Regions from separate parts of the Homo sapiens genome. Here region 2 is linked to region 1. Evidence: promoter capture Hi-C in 16 types of primary human blood cells and fetal thymus (Javierre and others, 2016). All regions are on one chromosome and are shown on one strand. Each heading gives the region's core, a stretch centred on a gene start or on the middle of the fragment in contact. The rest is flanking DNA. Distances are from core to core; before and after follow the strand shown.

What was found. Contacts are between HindIII fragments. The CHiCAGO score rates a contact against its expected background, and 5 or more counts as called.
Region 2: a fragment that was not itself captured here is called in contact with the fragment with the promoter of CYP24A1 in region 1 in 5 of 17 cell types (monocytes, endothelial precursors, M0 macrophages and 2 more); the score reaches 8.7 in monocytes.

Annotation. Positions count from the first base shown.
Region 1 is chr20:54,171,235-54,178,638 of GRCh38, forward strand. CYP24A1 (cytochrome P450 family 24 subfamily A member 1) reads right to left here and starts at 2,752. Exons shown (of 12, transcript NM_000782.5): 1 at 2,088-2,752; 2 at 1,675-1,865; 3 at 343-436. The coding sequence starts at 2,345. It overlaps LOC105372675 (a long non-coding RNA gene), which reads left to right and starts at 7,060. Exons shown (of 4, transcript XR_936882.4): 1 at 7,060-7,254. RefSeq lists an enhancer at 2,382-2,975. The HindIII fragment of the contact is 2,450 bases long and covers 1,570-4,019 here.
Region 2 is chr20:54,641,961-54,649,364 of GRCh38, forward strand. DOK5 (docking protein 5) reads left to right here. Exons shown (of 8, transcript NM_018431.5): 7 at 1,498-1,618. Among named protein-coding and RNA genes, the nearest start is that of DOK5, 170 kb to the left of the region's middle. The HindIII fragment of the contact is 1,294 bases long and covers 4,055-5,348 here.

The DNA of each region.
Region 1 (7,404 bases), core at 1,502-4,001:
ATGGGGAAACTGAGGCTTAGGGAAGGTAAGTGGTATATAGCCAGGTCTCATAGCCAGGGAGTGGAAAGCTGGGGTTCAAATCCAGGGCTGTAGAATACCAAAGTCCACACTCTCCATTGCTCCCTCATTGTGATATGACTTTAAAAGAGGGTGGAGGAGGGAGAAATAAGGGTTTGGTGGGGAGGAGGCTGTAGGAAGGAATGGAGAGAAAGAGAAGACCCCCACTTTGAATCACCCGAATTGCATTCTTTTTTCCTTTGTTCTTTGTAGCTGTGACTTGAAGCTCCACCAATATCCCTATGTCCCCACGAGCCCCAGGAAAGCTGGCCCCAGCCTGCAGACCTCATTGATTTTGTTGTCCAGCTTCATCACTTCCCCTGGTTTCATTAGTTTCTTTTGAAAGGCACTCCGGACCCGCTGCCAGTCTTCCCCTTCCCTGTGAGAGAAGCAGGAATACATTTAGAGCACACTGAAAAGAAAAGAAGGAGATGCAGAAATACTCCAGCTGCAACTTCAGGAACCATAAAATCAAACAAACACTGAGAATCATGCCAAGAAATAGCCAGAGAATATTAGCATCAGAATATTTGGGATAAAATAGTGATCATCTTTTGACAATAGTTTGACAATAGGATGAAAAAGCACCTTTCCTCCTAGTCAAAGATTGCACCAAAAAGTTGAAGTCCAGATAATTTGGGTTCAGGGATTTTGAGGTGTCCTTGCAGGGAGTGGGGCTGGGAGGCCTGGGGACAATTCCTAGCGGTAAAAGGGGGCATGTGAACACCCCATCACCAGCAACTCAGATCTGTTTGAGGGAAGAATCTTGTCTTCTTTCAACTCATTGGTGTGGGCTTCATATTTACAAAATATCTCAGATTTAGAATTTTGCCATCGCCTCCAAATAATAACATACAGTCAGAGAGTCACTGGAGTAATAAAAAGCCTTTTGCGATCGTGCACTTGTAGGCACCTGCCCCATAGCAGACCATACAGCCTGTGAAGCACCGTGAATTAATAGGGTTTTTAATTCCAGTCATTATATCCTGGAAAATATAACGATTAGGCATTACAGTTTGGGGGTAAATAAAGGTGCTAACTTGTTAAATGCTAACAACTAAAAAGCAGAAGAATCACATCCCATAGTAGCATTTGTCGACCTAAAACACAACTTTGATATCCCTCCTTATTCCACCTTTACAAGTAGAAATAAGGCATGTCCCCCAATCCTCTGCAGAAAATGTCACTGTAAAAAGCCAAAGAGGCTAACTCCTCGCTTTTGAGCTTACAAGGTGTTTCAGGGAGTTTTAAGGGATAATTTTGTTTGTATAAGATGTTTGCCTGGTACGCTGACTTCAGAACCTCATCCTGCCCAAGAGTCTGAACACCACAGTTGGTACAACCCTGTTTTGGCGTTTCTTTGATGGGAGGGTGTGGCCCTGCCCTGTTGCCAGAGAGAACGCAGGTGCTGGGTGCACAGCACGGCTTTTCCGTGGACCGACTCTAATCTGTACAAGAGCTCAGGGTTGCGATGGCACGGGAGAGGGGCTTTGGTATCCGCCCTACGTAAGAAGCTTCCAACCCCAGGGAACTCTAACTCCGCCTCTTCACAATTTCCAGGCGCCGTCAGGCTCATCAGGTCTGGCCGCATGCCCAGGTCCCTCGGATTGGACTCACAGGATCAGCAGCCCGTAGCCTTCTTTGCGGTAGTCGCGATAGGCCTTCCACGGTTTGATCTCCAGCCGCTGCGGGTACGCGCTCTCGGTGCGGTACAGCGCTTCCAGCAGGCATGGCGAGCCCAGGTGCACCGACTCAAAGGAACCCAACTTCATGCGGAAAATCTTGCCATACTTCTTGTGGTACTCCACCTGCAGCCGGCCGGGCACAGCGCGGTGTCAGCGCGCATCCTCCGCCGTGCCCGAAGCGCTTTCCCTCCTCCCGCCTCCTTCCTCCTAGGGGACCGGGGACCCTCCCTGCCCAGACGCCGAAGCGCACCATGCGCCCGAGGCGCGCATGTCGGGGAGGGTTTGGAGCGCCACTGGGAGGGCGGAAGAGGGAGGAGAGAGTCAGGGGCGCGAAAAGGGGTTTACCAGGGTGTCGTGCTGTTTCTTGAGACCCCCTTTCCAGAGAATCTGCAGCAGGCTGCCCAGCAGTGGCCAGCTGGTGGGGCCCGGCAGGGCGGCCGCGTTCTGAGTCTCGCCACCAGCTGTCAGCGGGCAGACTGGCACCTCTCGCGGCTGAGGGGACGTGTACGCCGTAGATGTCACCAGTCTCGGGGGCTGCCTCGGACTGCGCAGCTGCTGCAGGAAGGCGGCAAGCGAGCGGCTCTTGCTGATGGGGGAGCTCATGGCAGCGGGGGACACCGGAGCGCGGGAAGGCAGGAGGATGGGGTGGGGCGAGGTTGGTACGAGGTGCTAGTGGGAGTCGGGGCTTAACGATTCTGGGAAAAGGAAGCAAAGAGGGCCAGCTGGTGTGATGGAGCGGGGTGAGGCGGGACAGGCAGCAGAAAGGACCTCGGCGAGGATGCTCGACGCTGCACCACGCGACAGCCTCAGAGCATTGGTGCCTCCTTGCACTGGCCGCAGGGGCTGGAAGAGGGTGGCCGGTGTCTGGGGACCTCTTGAAAAGGGAAAGCTGGGAGTCCTCCTGTTGGTCCGCAAGGCTGACCTCTAGGGTCTGGCTGGAGCCACGGGGAGGTGTCAAGGAGGGTAGATGAGATGCTGCTGGCGCTGCGTTTCCTCCTGTCCCTCTCCATGTTCCTATGCCCAGGGACCATGCATTTATGGAGACAGAGCATGCCCTGGGTGGCCAATGAGCACGCAGAGGAGGGCGGAGTGGCCCCCGGCTGGCCAGACTCCGAGGGACGCGGGACCCAGGGGAGGGGGGGTGGAAGGAGGATGGAGTCAGCGAGGTGAGCGAGGGCGTCCGGGCCTGGGGTGACCGGGGCTATGTTCGCTGGGCGCGGGAGGTGGGGTGGGGGCGGCAGACTCCACCCCGGAGATAACCCCCAGGAAGTCATGCGAAGCCCGGAGTTCACCGGGTGTGCTTCGAACGCGCCTCCCCGCCCTCCCCCGGCGGGCAGGAGCCGGCAGCGGCGGCCGTGGTTGCCGCCCGGCGCTTGCACAATCGCGATGCCGGGCGGGCGAGGTCCCCGAGTGCGGGCCCAGAAAAGCTGCCGGCGTCTGCCAGGGCCCCGGGGAGCCCGGGCGCCTCCCGGGGAGCCAGATACCCCCAGCCTGGACTGAAGTGATTTTTTTTTTTTTTTTGCCTTTTTTTTTTTGGAGGAAGTTTGGCTTTCTGCGCCTCCCAGGGTGGGGAGGATTTGAGTCTTACTGAAATGCACCAGAAGAGGAGACTTTCTTAACTTGAGCAAGAAGGGGAGTTTGTAGAATTTCCTTCCTGCTGTTTCATGTTTGGTTGTTTTGCAGATTAAATGAATTAATGCACGTAAAGCGGCAACAACGAAGCCTTGTCTATAGTCAACAGTCAATAAAAGTTAGTTGCTGTTGTTACTTCTTTAGGAAGTTAGGAAATGCGCCTTGAGAGCGTGGCTTGCACCAACGATGCTTGAATTCAGGCTGGGCCACCTCCCCTATGTCCACTGCCCGCCTCTGTTCTTCTACACCGACTACCTTGTGCAAAGGAGGGGCACACAGAGCTTGAAACCACCGCCCCCAGTACTCCCCCTCTCCCCCAAGGTGCGTCCTAGGCAGGTCCAGTGACAAACATACACAATTTCTAGAGTTACCGCGGCTGGCAAGAGTAGAACTCGCTTTGCTAATTCAGGAACGGAAGTTGGAGATTTTTGTTGATTGTTTTAAAGTGGCTCGAATCCTTTCAACCTGATCCAATACAAAACTACCACCAGCCAGGGAGGAGGGGAGGGACATTCTGTTTCCTCGCCCTGCTTTTCAATTACGTGTCTCAGTCATTTTTGCCCCAAGTGTTGGCAAATCCTTCCCTGGTAAATTCTTTTGTAAGCCTCTAGTTTGTTTCTTAAAAATCTTTTGCAGTCCAACTTAAGCTTTAACACCATCATTTCTGATTTGTCTGGAGGGGCTAATGACTGTTTATGTTAATAAAAATAATAGCTATTGATATATACTAAACTTTATGAATCTTGTACATATTTATATATACATTGTATGGTATATATGTTACAGCATACACTATAGATTATGTTATATGCAATACACACTAAATATACATAATATAGTATAGATTGCATACAGTATGTAGATTCCATATGTTATATAATATTCTCATGAAAGCTTTCTAGGGCTTATGATAAGTCAGGCACTGAGCTAGACATTTTACATCATTTTTTCCGTTTAGTTCTCATCTCAGCCCAATGTCAATAAAATGAAATAAAATAAAAAACAAAAAAAAATCAAAGACAAACAAAAAAACCCTTGACTCTTACAGAGCTAAGTAATTTGCCCAATGTCACAGACGTTACCATTGGCTCAGGTGGGATTCAGACCCAATATTTTCTGATTCTAGGCTGGGCCCTAAATAGTACACCCATATACATCATGCTATGTTATGTCACTTTTTCTTAAACCAGAGTGTCTCAGAATATTGGAAGTATTTCTTAAATGAGAATTATCACCAAGAGGAAAGTGGGGGGGATCAGAATGCCTACCATGTCAGTATGTGTGGGGCAGTGTGAGGCAAACGTTTTATGTGCTGACGGTGGTGAAAAAGAATAGCTCTGGCTGAGTGTAGTGGCTCACGCCTGTAATCCCAGCACTTTGGGAGGCCGAGGTGGGCGGATCACCTGAGGTTGGGAGTTCGAGACCAGCCTGGCCAACATGGTGAAAGCCCATCTCTACCAAAAATACAAAAATTAGCCGGGTGTGGTGGTGCATGCCTGTAATCCCAGCTACTCAGGAGGCTGAGGCAGGAGAATCGCTTGAACTCGGGAGGCGGAGGTTACAGTGAGCCGAGATCGCCCCACTGCACTCCAGCCTGGGCGACAGAGTAAGACTCTGTCAAAAAAAAAAAAAAAAAAATAGCTCTAAACAGAAGGTCTATGTTTTTCACTACTGAGTACCTTGATTCTGGTGAGGTGCTTGGACACAGTGAATGGTCTATTGTTATTTCAACTATTGAGTAATTTTCCCAATTATTCTTTCTTTTCCTTCTCTTTTGGCAGATATGCACAAGGAGAAGAGGAAATAATTTCAGACTTGCTAGGTTTTTCTAAGAGTTTCATGCTATATAGCTTTATATACTCTAAATAGATATTTAAATATATGGGCAATCATTAGTTACATGATAGCTAAAAAGAAAATTCCTGTTTCAGGGATATTGGTTTCTCATGTTCAGTGGAGAAAATCCCCAGTAATTTTTAGACCGGATTGCAGAGGAAAGCAAGACTAGTTCTTTGAAACTTCATTGACCCCAATACATACCTGTCCTTGAGAAGTATGATTAAATTCAAAATGACTATTTTTGATCCCGCTTCCAGGAATTCACTATTCCTCATCTGTCCTCATCCTTCACTCACTACTTAGCCTCTATGAGTCATCCGGATAGGGATCTTGTCAGGAATTACTAATGAGAGATCTTGAAATGCCTCATAAATGCCTGCCATCATTACTGAGACAGGCTCAGGCCCTCTGTTTTGCTCTGGGAAATCTTACCAAGTCCTGGAATGGATAATTAGACTTCAGCCCTCATACCAAGGGACCACCCATGACAACATGTGTGTGTGAGTTCACACACCTGTGTACACATGTATAATGAGGGTGGGGTGGAGGAGCCTGTAGGAGTTCAAGGGCTGGTTTCTCTGCACTGGAAAATACAAAACACTTTCAAGTATATGCAATAGTAATATAGTTTTGTGCTTAAAACTGCTTAGGCCTGGCATGATGGCTCACGCCTGTAATTCCAGCAATTTGGAAGGGTGAGGCAGGCAGATCACTTGAGGTCAGGAGTTCAAGACCAGCCTGGCCAACATGGTGAAACCCTATCTCTACTAAAAAATACAAAAATTAGCCAGATGTTGTGGCAGATGCCTGTAATCCCAGCTACACGGGAGGCTAAGGCAGGAGGATTGCTTGAACCCGGGAGGTGAAGGTTGCAGTGAGCTGAGATCATGCCACTGCACTCCATCCTGGGCGACAGAGCAAGACTCCATCTCAAAAAAACAAACACAACAAACTTTGCCTAAACTGGGGCGTGAGTACTAGATCCACTTTCCGTTGCGGAAACCTGGAGGACTTACTTGCCGCATTTGTTAAATGGACAGTGTTGGTTCCAACCTCACGGTAAAGTTCAAGCTTCATGGAAACAGGAGTAGTAACAATAGCCAATTTCACGGGGCTCCTGTGAGAACACTGCAAATAAAATTCCTACCACAGTAAAGTGCCCAGCAAATATGACCTTGTAGCATTACTGTATTGCATGCCTTGGTTTTTTCAAAGTCCATAGAAGGGAGGCAATTTAGATGTCTCTGACTCAAGAAACTGTATACTTGAATAAAGCCAAAGGAAGATTAGCAATGAAATGCTGGTGAATTCAAATCCCAGCTCAGCCACTGAGCAGCTAGAAAAACCAGGGACAATTTACTTGTCTCTCTCTCAGCCTTAGTTTCCTCTTCTCAAAAGTGGCGATCAGGACGGGTGCAGTGGCTCACACCTGTAATCCCAGCACTTTGGGAGGCCAAGGCAGGCGGATCACCTGAGGTCAGAGTTCGAGACCAACCTGGCCAACATGGCAAACTCCTGTCTCTACTAAAAATACAAAAATTAGCTGGGCATGGTGGTGGGTGCCTGTAATTCCAGCTGCTTGGTAGGCTGAAGCAGGAGAATCACTTGAACCTGGGAGGTCGAGGTTGCAGTGAGCCGAGATAGCGCCACTGCACTCTAGTCTGGGCGACAGAGTGAGACTCCATCTCAAAAAAAAAAAAAAAATGGTGATCATGGTAGTAGTTCCCACTCCATAGGGTTTTTCTGAGGATGACAAAGCACTGAAAGTCCCTAGCACATGTGCTCACTGTTAATGTCATTAAGAACTACAGGAACTGGGCTGTCAAATAATTAAGGTCATAATCTTTATTACATGTGTCTTGGAGTTCTTTGCCCAATTAGACAAACCTTCTTGAAATTATAGGCATTGTTTTTTTGTCTTTGTTTTTGTTTCTCCTAAAGCAGATGACACAGTGCTGTTTATGTTGGCCAGCACCCAATAAGCAAATAATGGGAAATTGATTATTGATTATTTCCTCATTCCCAAGTGAAAAGGAGAAAGGTTAGTATCAATGTATTCTTTGTTTTCTGAGGAAATCGTTGGGAATCCTGGAGGGCTTTATGTGTGGGTCATATAGAAAATAGTTCTGTATGACAAAAACGATAGTTTTGGTCTCAAAAGCTTGGGCTGAAACCATGGCTCCACCACTCA
Region 2 (7,404 bases), core at 3,452-5,951, 470 kb after region 1:
TGATATTCAAGCATCCAGGAAATTCAACTTTGCAAATAGTCACTTCTTACACAATGGCATAATCAACCTGCGTCATGATTGTGTCTAAGACCAGGGCTCAGATACGGGGGTGCCTGGAGGTCTGCTTCCACTTGCACCCCCATTCTTCTTGCATGCGTTGACCCCGTTCACCTTTCCTTTTATTCTACCCATCCTACAGGCTCTTTTCTCTCTGAAACTTTCCTTCTTTTGTATAATTCTTTCCCCGATGTGGTTGGTCAGGCTGTTGACTGCTCTCTGATAATCTGGGGGACTAGAACTGTGTCTTTAGAGTTGCCTGCTGCCAAAAGCCATTTCATCTTTTTTCCTCCCTCAATGTCTGGAACAATGATTTGTCGACAATACTTGTTCAAACAGACTTTTATTTTTTCTTTCTGATGCCAGAACACCCAACACAAGTCAGTTTAAACTGACAAGAATTAGGCTGGGTGTGGTGGCTGACACCTGTAATCCTAACATTCTGGGAGGCCGAGGTGGGTGGATCACCTGAGGTCAGGAGTTCGAAATCAGCCTGGCCAACATGGAGAAACCCCATCTCTACTAAAAATACAAAAAAAAAAAAAAAAAAAGAAAAATTAGCCGGGCGTGGTGGCATGTACCTGTACTTCCAGCTACTCAGGAGGCTGAGGCAGGAGAATTGCTTGAGCCCAGAGGCGGAGGTTGCAGTGAGCTGTGATCGTGCTACCACACTCCAGCCTTGCTGACAGAGCAAGACTCCATCTGAAAAAAAACAAAAACAAAACAAAACAGAAAAACCCCAAACTGAAAAGAATGAAATGGCTAATACAATTGAAAAGTCTGGGGCCAGCCTCTGGATTCAGTGGGATCCAAGGTCTCAGTGGAGTGTGTGAAGATCTCTCTGCTTTTCTTGGCTGTCTTCTTCTGAATGGTGTCTACTCACTGTCACGTGGTCCCTTTGTAGTTCCAAGATAGGCTCCAGTCCCATCTCCAGCCTCTTAACAACTCCACGAGAAATCATTCAACACATGTTACTTGTATATCTATTACATGCAAGGCAATATTCTGCACTCTGGGGATAGATCAATGAACAAAACAGTCATAAATCTTTAGCTTACTTCTGCTGATTCTCTCTTCCACAAAAATGCTAACAATGTCTCAGTAAATTATTTCGGAGTGGTCTGGCATGGGTCACCAGCCCAACCCTAAAGTGAATGGGGGAATCAGCCCCACCGGGACTAGAGGGACTTAGCTGGGTTGGAGGGAAGTTCCCCAAAGGAACGTCATCAAGGCACTGTTGCCAGCAGGGTAAAGAATGGATGGTGCTAAGTAAGCAAAAACAGTAGCTGGCCACCATGCCCACCACCTTCAATCGATGTTCATTGATTTGCAGCCTGGCCAGCTCTGTGGTTCTTTTACTCCATGCTCTCCTGTTTCCTCAGTCAGGCCACTTTCGGCCCCAGTGTTGCTGACGCACAACTTTCTTCCCTTTGGCTGCAGCTCCAGATGAAGATGAGTGAGCGGGCCGCCTCGCTGAGCACCATGGTGCCCCTGCCTCGCAGCGCCTACTGGCAGCACATCACACGGCAGCACAGCACGGGACAGCTCTACCGCTTGCAAGGTAAGCGTGGGGCTACCTGTGTCCAGGGTGTGGGCCAGGCCTGGGAGTACTGGGGAGGGGGCTCAGCTCAACTCGCAGCTGCTGCATGCCAGCTGGTTAGTGCCCTTCCTCCAAAGGTAGGACCCCCATCAAGGCCTCACACACGAGGCACTTAATCTTTGTAGAGCCAAATATCTGTATGGCTCTAGAGATATTTGTATCTATCACAGTGTCCGGGGGGAAGTCACTTAAAATGAAGATTCTTGGGTTTCATCCCCAGAGACTCTAGATCTTAAGGCATAGGATGTGGCTGAGCAATCTGCACTTTTAACAGACCGTACACAGGGTCTGGGCGAGGGGCCAGGGACCAGGCTACAAGAAATGATGTAGTGGACTGATGAATCACAGCATCAGCATTACTTGAAGTCTTGCTAGAAATGCAAATTTCCATGCCCTTCCCCAGACCTACTGAATCAGGAGCTCTGAGGGTGGGGCCAGGCCACCTGTATTTGAACAAGTCCTCCAGGTGATTCTCCCGAGAGCTCAGGTCTAGGAGCCAATGTTTTGGTGGATGGGGCCCTGGACTGAGGCCAGAAGCCATGGCTTCAGGTTTGCTGAATGACTTTAGGCAAATCCTAGTAAGCTCTTCTTCTAGAGAAGTGGTCTCTGAAGCATGATGCAGAACAGCCCATAGTGTGGACAACATGAACAATGAAAAAATCTGCTTAAAATGGCCAGGCGTGGTGGCTCACGCCTGTAATATCAGCACTTTGGGAGGCCAAGGCGGTCAGATCACCTGAAGTCAGGAGTTGAAGGCCAGCCTGGCCAACATGGTGAAACCCTGTCTTTACTAAAAAAAATACAAGGCCGGGCGCAGTGGCTCACGCCTGTAATCCCAGCACTTTGGGAGGCCGAGGCGGGCGGATCATGAGGTCAGGAGATCGAGACCATCCTGGCTAACACAGTGAAACCCCGTCTCTACTAAAAAACACAAAAAAATTAGCCGGGCGTGGTGGCGGGCGCCTGTAGTCCCAGCTACGCGGGAGGCTGAGGCAGGAGAATGGCGTGAACCCGGGAGGCGGAGCTTGCAGTGAGCCGAGATAGCGCCACTGCACTCCAGCCTGGGTGACAGAGAGAGACTCCGTCTCAAAAAAAAAAAAAAAAAAACAAAATTTAGCTGGGCGTGGTGGCATGTGCCTGTAATCCCAGCTGAGTCAGGGGAATCACCTGAACCTGGGAGGCGGTGGTTGCAGTGAGCCAGAATTGCACCATTGCACTCCAGCCTGGGCAACAAGAGCAAAACTCCATCTCAAAAAAAAAAAATTCTATTTAAACCTATCCTTTCAAACATATTTGTTTTGTTTTGTTTTTCATTTCATAGTACATAAGAATAGCTTATTATGTTATGCGCCTTTGTGGGGGATACTTGTAAAAAAACTCTTTTTTTTTTTTTTTTTTTTTTTTTTTTGAGACAGAGTCTCGCTCTGTCGCCCAGGCTGGACTGCAGTGGCGCGATCTCGGCTCACTGCAAGTTCCGCGCAAAAAAACTCTTTAATGATGAGGTACAAGACCACCAAACTGGAAATAGAGTGCACTGGACTACACGTAGTTTACGTGCAGAAATTTGCTGAATAATTGAATGCAAGAATGAATGAATGACCATGGAAGACTATGGCCTTAGTCCTCCATGCTCGCTCTGAACCCTCAGTCCTCCATGCCCGCTCTGAACCCTCAGTCCTCCATGCCCGCTCTGAACCCTCAGTCCTCCATGCCCGCTCTGAACCCTCAGTCCTCCATGCCCGCTCTGAACCCTCAGTCCTCCATGCCCGCTCTGAACCCTCAGTCCTCCATGCCCGCTCTGAACCCTCAGTCCTCCATGCCCGCTCTGAACCCTGGTCACAACAGCATTTTTTTCTCAGTCTTTGCTGTTGGTCCTTTCTCCCCCAGGCAGCTTTTCCTGTATGCTGCGCCCGTCCCTCATCCTAGTTAACTCCTGCTCACCTCCAGGTCTCACCTCCAGCGCCCCTCAGGCTCCAAGAAAGCCCTCAGGACTTTCTTGTAACTGGAGTGGACATCTCTGATGACGTGCACTCATAAGATGCAGATGATGGCCGGTTTTCATTTCATATTTATGTGGCCAATTGACTCATGGTCAGCTCTCCCAGGAAGCAATAATGTACAGGAGGGCAGGAGAGCTGTGCCTCCTTCTATCTTTATCATTTTATCCCCCGGCACCTTGTATGCCTTCCATCAGGATTTGTCGAAAGAATGCATAATGTTAAGAAAGCACTGGGGGTATTTACATTTTAGTTTTCATGACTCTGTGCTCTGTTCACTAGCAGAGAGCATGGCACATAGCAGATGCTGCAAAAAAAAAAAAAAAAAAAAAAAAAAAAAAAGATACTGAGTGCCTCTGTGAGCAGCTGAGCAAACGACTGAATTAATAATTGACAAATAAGCTTACCTTCCAAGATTTCTCTGCAGAGAGAGTGAGTTAGATTGGGTTGTCACAATGCCACTGATTCTCACTTAAACTTCAAAAATGTTTGCAATATTTGAGTTATATCATCACAATTTTTGTCATATACATACCAGAATGTTACTCGATTTTACTCTCTTCTATTTTAATATACTTCTTTAAAAAAAGCATATTTTACTACCTTAATACTGTTATATCCACTGGTTATACTGTTTTTTTTTTTTTTTTTTTTTTTTGAGACAGGGTCTGGCTCTTCGCCTAGGCTGGAGTGCAGTGGTGCGATCATGGCTCACTGCAGTCTCAACCTCCTGGGCACCAGTGATCCTCCTGCCTTAGCCTACCAAATAGCTGGGACTACAGGTGTGTGCCACCAAGCCCAGCTAATTTATTATTTTTAGTAGAGAGGGTGTCTTACTATGTTGCCCAGACTGGTCTCAAACTTCTGAGCTCAAGTAGTCCTCCTGCCTCGGCCTCCCAAAGTGCTGGAATTATAGATATCAGCCACTGCACCCAGCTAGTTATGCTTTTTAATAGACAATAAAATAAATAATAAGTATTGAAGATTTAAAAGATGTTCACAGAGTACCTAAAATTATCTTGCTTATCAAAAGTGGCTATTTAAACAAGTACATTTAAAAAAAAAGTTTTATTCTTCTACCTATACTACCTACCTTCCCTCTCCCCTACTTTTCATACCCCTTAGAAAAAGGAAATAGGATTGGGAAAAGTTAATGACTTGGGGGCCTGGGGTGTGCCATATGATGAAGTTACAGAGCCTTTAATTTCTTCTTGTTTTGCTGATGATTATGGGTTGTAATTCCTCTGGCCAATTCACCTACATTGATGAATTTCAGGCTTTTTTTTTTTTTTTCTGGCAAATCTGGAGGTTAAGGTTGGAAATCATACAGACCCTTAAGGAGGAATTTAACAAATTGGTTTGAGAATAATGGTCATTTTCTTCAAATGTAGTCTTCGAGAGCCCCCTGCTGGTTGATTTGGGAATTATCATTTTACTACAGTTTTTGGTGGGGAAAGGGAGGTGGCTGGTTTTGACACGTGCCACACAAGACATACCTAATCTACCTTCACTGCTTCTCCCACGTCGTTTTAAAATTTTCATAGAAATTCTCTTCTATGATTATGCAGATACAAAATCAACATTGGAAGTAGGTTTATAATGAAAACTGTCTGGGCGTGGTGGCTCACACCTGTAATCACAGCACTTTGGGAGGCCGAGTTGGGTGGATCTCCTGAGATCTCGAGTTCAAGACAAGCTTGGCCAACATGGTGAAACCCCACCTCTACTAAAAATACAAAAATTAGCTGGGCATGGTGGCGGGCGCCTGTAATTCCAGCTACTCGGAAAGCTGAGGTGGGAGAATCGCTTGAACCCAGGAGGCAGAGGTTGCAGTGAGCCATGATCATGCCACTGCACTCCTGCCTGGGCAACAAGAGTGAAACTCTGTCTCAGTTAAAAAAAAAAAAAACAAAAAAACTATGGAAGAAACTTACAGAAGCAATCAACAAGTTTATGTTGAATACTATTCACTGGATTCTTTTAGGAATGCATTGGATAAAATAACAGCAGTTACATCAGTAGCATTTCCCAAATTATGTTCCTTGGAAAGCTAACTCTGGTAGACAGCACCTTTCCCCTAAGAAAGGTTACTGTGGTCAAACGCGTCTGGGGGAAATGCTACATGTTAAGTTCTCATGGAGAGTCAGAAAACAAATCAATAATTTCAGGGCTCTGAGATGCCCTGCAATGAAAAACCTGATTAAACTTGTTTAAACCAAAGCTCTGCACATCTATTTGGACATGAAACTTCTTTTCCTTCTTGTTATATGAATAAGCATTCACGTGCCACCAGTGCAGTGCTGAAATCTCAGATTTCATCATTACGAGGGAGACAAGCCATATTCAATGGGGTCTTTCTAAAAGCTACTCTTTCTGAGGACCTACTGTGTACCAGCTTTCCGCTGGGACCTAACATACATGATCTCATTTAGATCCCAAAACAGCTGCCCGAAAGGGTATTTTATTCTCATTTGCTGTTAGGAAACTGAGAATTTGAAGGGTTATTAATGGGTCCAAGACTACCTATCTAGTAAGTAACAAAGATTTTAAGGTTTTTCTCTCTCATTCTTCCATCCATCCATTCTTTGTTTACTCAGTAAACGTTTATTGAGCATCTAGTTTAGGCCAAGCGCTGTGCTAGATGACAGACATACCTGGGACTCCTAGGCAGGGATATTCCTTCCCTCTCGGAGCTTATAATCTAATGGAGAGTCACAATCCATAATCAAGCAGACATAGTTAATTTCAGATTTGGTATATGGAACAGTGGAAAAGAAAGTTTTTATGATAAAGAAAGTGAGGCAGAGCTGTTGGTTTTGAGAAGATGCTGACAAAGGGACTTCTTGAGATGGGGTAGTCAGTGGAAGCCCCTGCAACACCCCAAGACCTTAAGTCTAAAAGAGGCAGCCATACCGAGAGCCAGGGGAAGGCATTCTCCATAGAGAGGTCAGCAAATGCAAAGGCCCTGAGTCAGAAATGAGCTGCGGGCATTCAAAGATCAGGAAGGAGCCAGTGTGGCTGGTGCCTAAGGGACATAAAGAGACAGCCGGGGTGGTGAATACAGGTAATCAAGACTTGCTTATTCTAAGTGTGAGGGGAAGCATTAGAGGGTCCTCAGCATGGCAGTGTCAGATTTAATCGATATTTTCATTCAAGGGATTGCAAGAGAACAGGAGAGGAAGTGGGAGACTAGCCCCAAGGCCGTTGCACATGAGCACCGGAGTGTCTGGCCTCAGTACAATGTTCCTCTAACTCTCTCACCTCCTTCTCAAAGTTATCATCTCAGCAATCTTTACCCTTAGGCCAAGGTGCTTCATTGCTCCAGTGTTTTCCGAACTCTTCTGTGGGAATTGCCTTGGAAGATAGCATCACTGTTTCAAAACAAAAACAAGAAAAACTAGGCACCTATATCATAGATCGGACCTAAGATAATTTGAGGAAATCAAAGAGTGGCACTAAACAGTTGTGTCACTGAACCAGGCGTCTTCCATGTAGCCTTATGGGGTTCTCCTGACAACCATGGGAGTTGGTGAGAGTGGGACTATGGTCTCCATTTCAATGACTGAAGAAACAGAGACCTTTGGAGGTTAAGGTCTTACTCCAGGCCACATGGCTGGTGGATGTAGGCGAGACCCCCTCCCTACAAAAAATCCAAGAATTAGTCACGTGTGGTGGCACACACCTGTGGTCCCAGTTACTTGGGAGGCTGAGGTGGGAGGATCACCTGAGCTCAAGAGGTTGAGGCTGCAG